2 separate regions of the Homo sapiens genome follow, and region 1 is linked to region 2. The links are contacts of gene promoters, found by promoter capture Hi-C in human tissues and cell types (Jung and others, 2019). All regions are on one chromosome and are shown on one strand. The core of a region is centred on a gene start or on the middle of the fragment in contact, and the rest is flanking DNA. Distances in the headings are between cores, read along the strand shown. Region 1 has its middle 150 kb from the start of TRD-AS1. Region 2 holds the start of DAD1 (defender against cell death 1).

Region 1 (2,700 bases), core at 150-2,649, 260 kb after region 2:
CTAAAATGTCTTTCAAAAAGTATATGGTATTTAGTTTTAACCTGACTTTTAATCAGGGATGAATCAAAGATACTTTGGGCTCATAAAAAATTCATTTCCACAAAGAGCCATTGGGAGAAAGTATACATCTGTTCACTGAGCCATTATTTCAAAATTTCAAGAATATGCGCAGGCTGGGCCTTTTCAACACTTCCCTGAAACATAGCTCAGTGTGATGAGATCAACAAGCAACTTACATTTTAGTAGGTGACAATAGGGAATAAAAAAAGACTCAATTTTTCTGTTGAGCAATTCTGACTTGCACTTGGTGACAACTGCTGATTGATGAGCTCCTGCTTGCATGGGCCAGTTCACCAAGAGAATCAACACAGATGTGTACAAGCAATGTAGGGAGTGGGGTGTCCATTCTCTTTTGAAGCAATCCCATTTTGGGGTTAGATTTATAATGTTTGTGTTTTTTTATTTTATTTTATTGGCAACAGTGGCTCCTGTGAGGTTTCTAAGAAAGTGCAGAATGAATGTGAATCCTTGAAAGTCAGTTGTTCAGAAATTCCAAAACATATGCTGGTCAATGGGTTTGATGTCAAAGCAGAAATGATTGATAGAGAGGAGGACATTTCCTAAGGCAGCAGCACGCAGTCTAACTCTTTTGAGTGCCCTTGAGGGAGACCAATTTGCAAGGCTGGTATTTACTATTTCATTTGACTTGGCTGTGGCATTTACATAGTAATGGTTTCAGTTCAACTTGGGAATGTTATTTTAAATCCTATACATGCTGCATATAAAAGTGTCTAAATGAGTTATCTTATGTGCTTACTGTTTCTCAATGTTTGTTTGCATGCCTATTTGAAGCTGCTGTTTGCCAGTCACTGCCTTCATTGTAATATACTGTCATCGAGGTCCCCTAACAGAGAATGTGGTCCTCTGGTACCTCTAGTGACAAACTCCCATATTTGAGGGTTACACCAAGTTCCATACTAATCCAAGCTATTTCTTATAGCAAGTATCCAGGTGAGTGGTTTACAGTTGTGACATTTTGGTCTTGGAAACAGCACACAGCCCTAGTTAGGCCTGAGGGGATATGTAATACACGTGAATGTCATTTGTCATTTATGTAGGGGCAGAGGAATGCTTGAGTTCGCTATCTGGTGAATAGAGATGTAGCGGGTAAATGTTTTGTAATTTACTCAGATGTTCAATCCAGGATAGCTTTATTTTCTATAACAGCCTAATTTCTAACTCTGGTAACCACTTTGCGTGGTGTCAGAAAGCTTGCTTTAAGTAAATACAGGGTTTTCTCAGTAAAATCATGACTTTCTAAGTCAATTCAGGATGTCTTCCATCAGTTCAGATTTCCTCCTCGCCATCCTTGGGGTGGAATGTAGAGGCCTTAACTGGTGGTCTGGCATTGGTTGGGGACACCTGGCCCATACTGGCATCTGTTGGGGTGCAGTGCTTAGGGTCCAGTCTGGGACATTATTGTTTCTAATGTCCTGATGTCTGAGTCCCTGTAGGTCTCTGGCTGTTAATCTATATGCTCTGCATCCTTTTTATTATAATATTGACACCCATCCAGGTCCACTAAGTCTCTCTCTGTTAATTTCTATGCTTTTTGTGTGCATGCAAAAATTCAACTACTCTAATTCCAGTCTGGCAGAATGGGGCTGTCTTGGGCTTTCTGGGCCTATTGGCACTACTGCACAGCTGTCTCTGCCCTGGTGGAAATTTGCAGGATACTGTCACTCAGTCTTTCTGAGAGGAATTAGTTGTCAATCTCCTCTAGTTTCAGATTCCTAACATCCTATTTGGGGGCTAAAAATTGCCTCCTCCCACCCCACTGCTGGGAGGGTATGTGGAGATGGGCAGAGATCTTCACTGATGTCTTACTTTCTTGCTTTTGTCTCCATCACCCCAGAAATTCCCAGAAACTAAGAAATTTGCATTAAATCTAGGGTTGCATAATTGGTTTTTGTATTCAGATATATTCTAAGAGAACTTTTTGAGGCATAGATTTATTTTTAAACTCAAAAGTCGTAACCCAAACTCAAAACCCCTTTTTTCCATTCTATTGTCTCCAGAGGAATTTTCAAATTTATCCTTTCTTCTTTTGTGTTCATTGTGAACTCCCTTTTCCAATATAGGAAGGAGACCAGGACTTCCTGAGCTGCTGGCCTAACATGAGAATGATAACAAAGCAAAAAAGTATTTTCAGAAATAAAATACACATCTCTTTGTTGCTGGAAAGGGGTCCCAATCCAGACCCTAAGAGAGGGTTCTTGGATCTCACGCAAGAAAGAATTCAGGGTGAGTCCATATAGTAAAGTGAAAGAAAGTTTATTAAGAAACTAGAGGAATAAAAGTATGGCTACTCCATAGACAGAGCATCCTTGAGGGCTGCTGATTGCCCATTTTTATGGTTATTTCTTGATTATATGCTAAACAAGGGGTAGATTATTCATGCCTCCCCTTTTTAGATAGGGTAACTTCCTGACATTGCCATGGTATTTGTAAACTGTCGTGGCACTGGTGGGAGTGTAGCAATAAGGATGACCAGAGGTCACTCTTGTCGCCATCTTGGTTTTGGTGGATTTTAGCAGGCTTCTTTACTGCAACCTGTTTTATCAGCAAGGTCTTTATTACCTGTATCTTGTGTCAACCTCCTTTCTCATCCTGTGACCAAGAATGCATTAGCCTCCTGGG
Region 2 (2,700 bases), core at 201-2,700:
AGTGAAAAGGCAGGAACGCTGTTGTTCACCTGCTGTTTTAGGAATTTTGCTCACGTACAGTTCAAAATATTAAGAAGCTGAAAATAAAGTACCTGGTCATGTGTGGAAAAACTTACAGCTAAAAGGTGAGATGAACTGGGTCTAGAAGGTCGGATTCACGTGAAATTAAAAGGGCAACGAAAGCCAGAACTTAATTTCTTAAAAAAAGTTAAAACAGGCCGGGTGCAGTGGCTCATGCCTGTAATCCCAGCACTTTGGGAGGCCGAGGCTGGCGGATCACAAGGTCAGGAGTTCGGGACCAGCCTGGCTAACAATGGTGAAACTCCGTCTCTACTGAAAATACAAAAATTAGCCGGGCGTGGTGGCGCGTGCCTGTAGTCCCAGCTACTAGGGAGGCGGAGGTTGCAGTGGGCCGAGATCGCGACACTGCACTCCAGCCTGGCCGACAGAGCAAGGCTCCGTCTCAAAAAAAAAAAAAAAAACAGTTAAAACCCTCAAAATAATCCCACTTGTTAAAATACAAAACCTGAAACCATTTCAGTTTCTTCTGCAAAATGAGTTGGAGAGAGTAGGGTTGAACCAGGCATGCTCTTTCGGGCCTTTCGACGCTGACATCCCGGGATATTACACCAGGTTCAAGATACCAGCTTGCGGAAAGAGAGCTGCTAAACTTGACCATATGCTTTTTGCACGACATTCGACAGCTGTCCCTCCCTTCACCAGCTCTTTTAAGGCTGCAAATATATCTGATTCACGTGAGAGTCCCTACAAGTTAGTACAACGTCAGGCCCCAAGGAGGCGCCCAATAAATGTTGGCATTGCAGGGCCAGATCCCGAGTTCCAGTTCAGAACCCTGCTGAGGTCAGGCTTCCTCCCTGCCTCCCGCCCCTCACCACACCCACTCACTCCCCCAAGTAATTAAGTCTAAACTGGGGCCTGTGCAGTGATTGGCCGCGCCGGGTCTCACTGCGGATGAACTTGACTTGTTCCAATGATCTGTGACAGACATCTGCAGACAGCGCCCTTAACAGAATTAGGGTCAGGCTGGTATCAAACCCCAGGAACGCCAGGCATTGCCTCAAAGTAGATGCAAACCGTTAAATCTTCCAGGACTCAGAAGGACCAGAGAGAGCCGGATACCTCTGGTTAGCTACGCGGTCCCCAGTAAAGCTTATTCCCCTCTTCCTCCCAGTGTGTCTTGTTGCCAGAGCAACTGTGGGCGTCACCGAGCTGACGGGCGGAAACAGAACAGAAAGAGTACACGTCCCCAGCTCATTGATAGGGCCATTGCGCAGACGCATTAACTTTTCTGAGTTGTAGTTGAGTCTGTTGATGCAGTCCGCGTCTGCGCATTAGTTGTTACGCGCCCTGGCCGGCCTCAGCGCCTGCGCAAATTGGCACACCGGGGAGGGCGGAGTTAGGTCACGAGGGTGCGCATGCGCAAACAGCACATCCGGTGTGGTCGACGGGTCCTCCAAGAGTTTGGGGCGCGGACCGGAGTACCTTGCGTGCAGTTATGTCGGCGTCGGTAGTGTCTGTCATTTCGCGGTTCTTAGAAGAGTACTTGAGCTCCACTCCGCAGCGTCTGAAGTTGCTGGACGCGTACCTGCTGTATATACTGCTGACCGGGGCGCTGCAGTTCGGTTACTGTCTCCTCGTGGGGACCTTCCCCTTCAACTCTTTTCTCTCGGGCTTCATCTCTTGTGTGGGGAGTTTCATCCTAGCGGGTAATGGTTCTATAAGTGATCATAATAATAATGTGTTACTTTGGTGTGCTGCTTTTGTTTTCATAGTACTCTATATCAGACCACCGCCCCTTGAAGTTATGAGAAGAGCCTGCATTGCCCTTTTGTTGTGAATGGGGAAATTGAGGCTCAGAAAGCTTAGATTATATGCCTAATACCAAACGGCTCCGTAGGAGTTGGACTTAAAAGTCTAAAGAAACCACCTTCGTGCCGCTACTCCACTTGGTGATCCACTTCACTTAATATTGGTCCGGGGAAAACCCTATTCCAACTTTAACTTAGGTTTAACACAACTCTAAAATTAGTAGACTTTTCAAATGAAAAACCCAACCTTGAATCATCTCTGTCATCTTGGCCTAATCATTACCAATCTCCGGTGAAACGTTTCAATGAAAGTGCAAAGAATATAAATACTGGTGCTTTTCTTGTTGAATCATCCTTTACTTGATTTTGCCTTTTAGCTGCTACTACTTTTTTTCTTGTTGAGGAAGCTGTTATTTCACTGTCCTGAACCCAATTTTTGTTCACATAACTCTATTTTAGCCTTATTTTTCCTTTTGATTCCAGGATTTGGTAACCTTGTAGACTGCTATATTTAGCGAGAACAGTCTCCATCAATTTTTGTTAAAATCTGACTTTTCTTGCCCAACGGGGATTCAGTGAATACTGAAAACAGGCGTGGCCTCTATCACTGGTATCACCTGCTACTTTGACTTTGAAAACATGCCAGCATTCATGGTTTCTTTTCAGTGTGATCATCAGTCAGGTCATCAGTTGTATTTTCAGTCCAATATGAGGCATTATGGTAAAAGCTTTGGCACATGTTCTTTATCCGTAAAGAGTTTATGGTCTAGTTGGGGTACAGACAAAATACAGCATTGGAATTGTCTGGAGGCCTGGCACAGTGGCTCATGCCTGTAATCCCAGTACTTTGGGAGGCCGAGGTAGGCAGATC

The links. The method cuts DNA at HindIII sites, captures the fragments that hold promoters and counts their contacts. A contact is called where the count stands out against the background at its distance.
Region 1: a contact is called between a fragment that was not itself captured here and the fragment with the promoter of DAD1 in region 2, in 1 of the 25 tissues and cell types used here (bladder).

The regions. Positions count from the first base shown.
Region 1 is chr14:22,330,846-22,333,545 of GRCh38, reverse strand. It overlaps TRA and the pseudogene LOC100420343. Among named protein-coding and RNA genes, the nearest start is that of TRD-AS1, 150 kb to the left of the region's middle. The HindIII fragment of the contact is 6,283 bases long and covers 1-2,700 here.
Region 2 is chr14:22,587,974-22,590,673 of GRCh38, reverse strand. DAD1 (defender against cell death 1) reads left to right here and starts at 1,450. Exons shown (of 3, transcript NM_001344.4): 1 at 1,450-1,727. The coding sequence starts at 1,517. RefSeq lists enhancers at 1,170-1,811, 1,812-2,453. The HindIII fragment of the contact is 2,964 bases long and covers 1-2,220 here.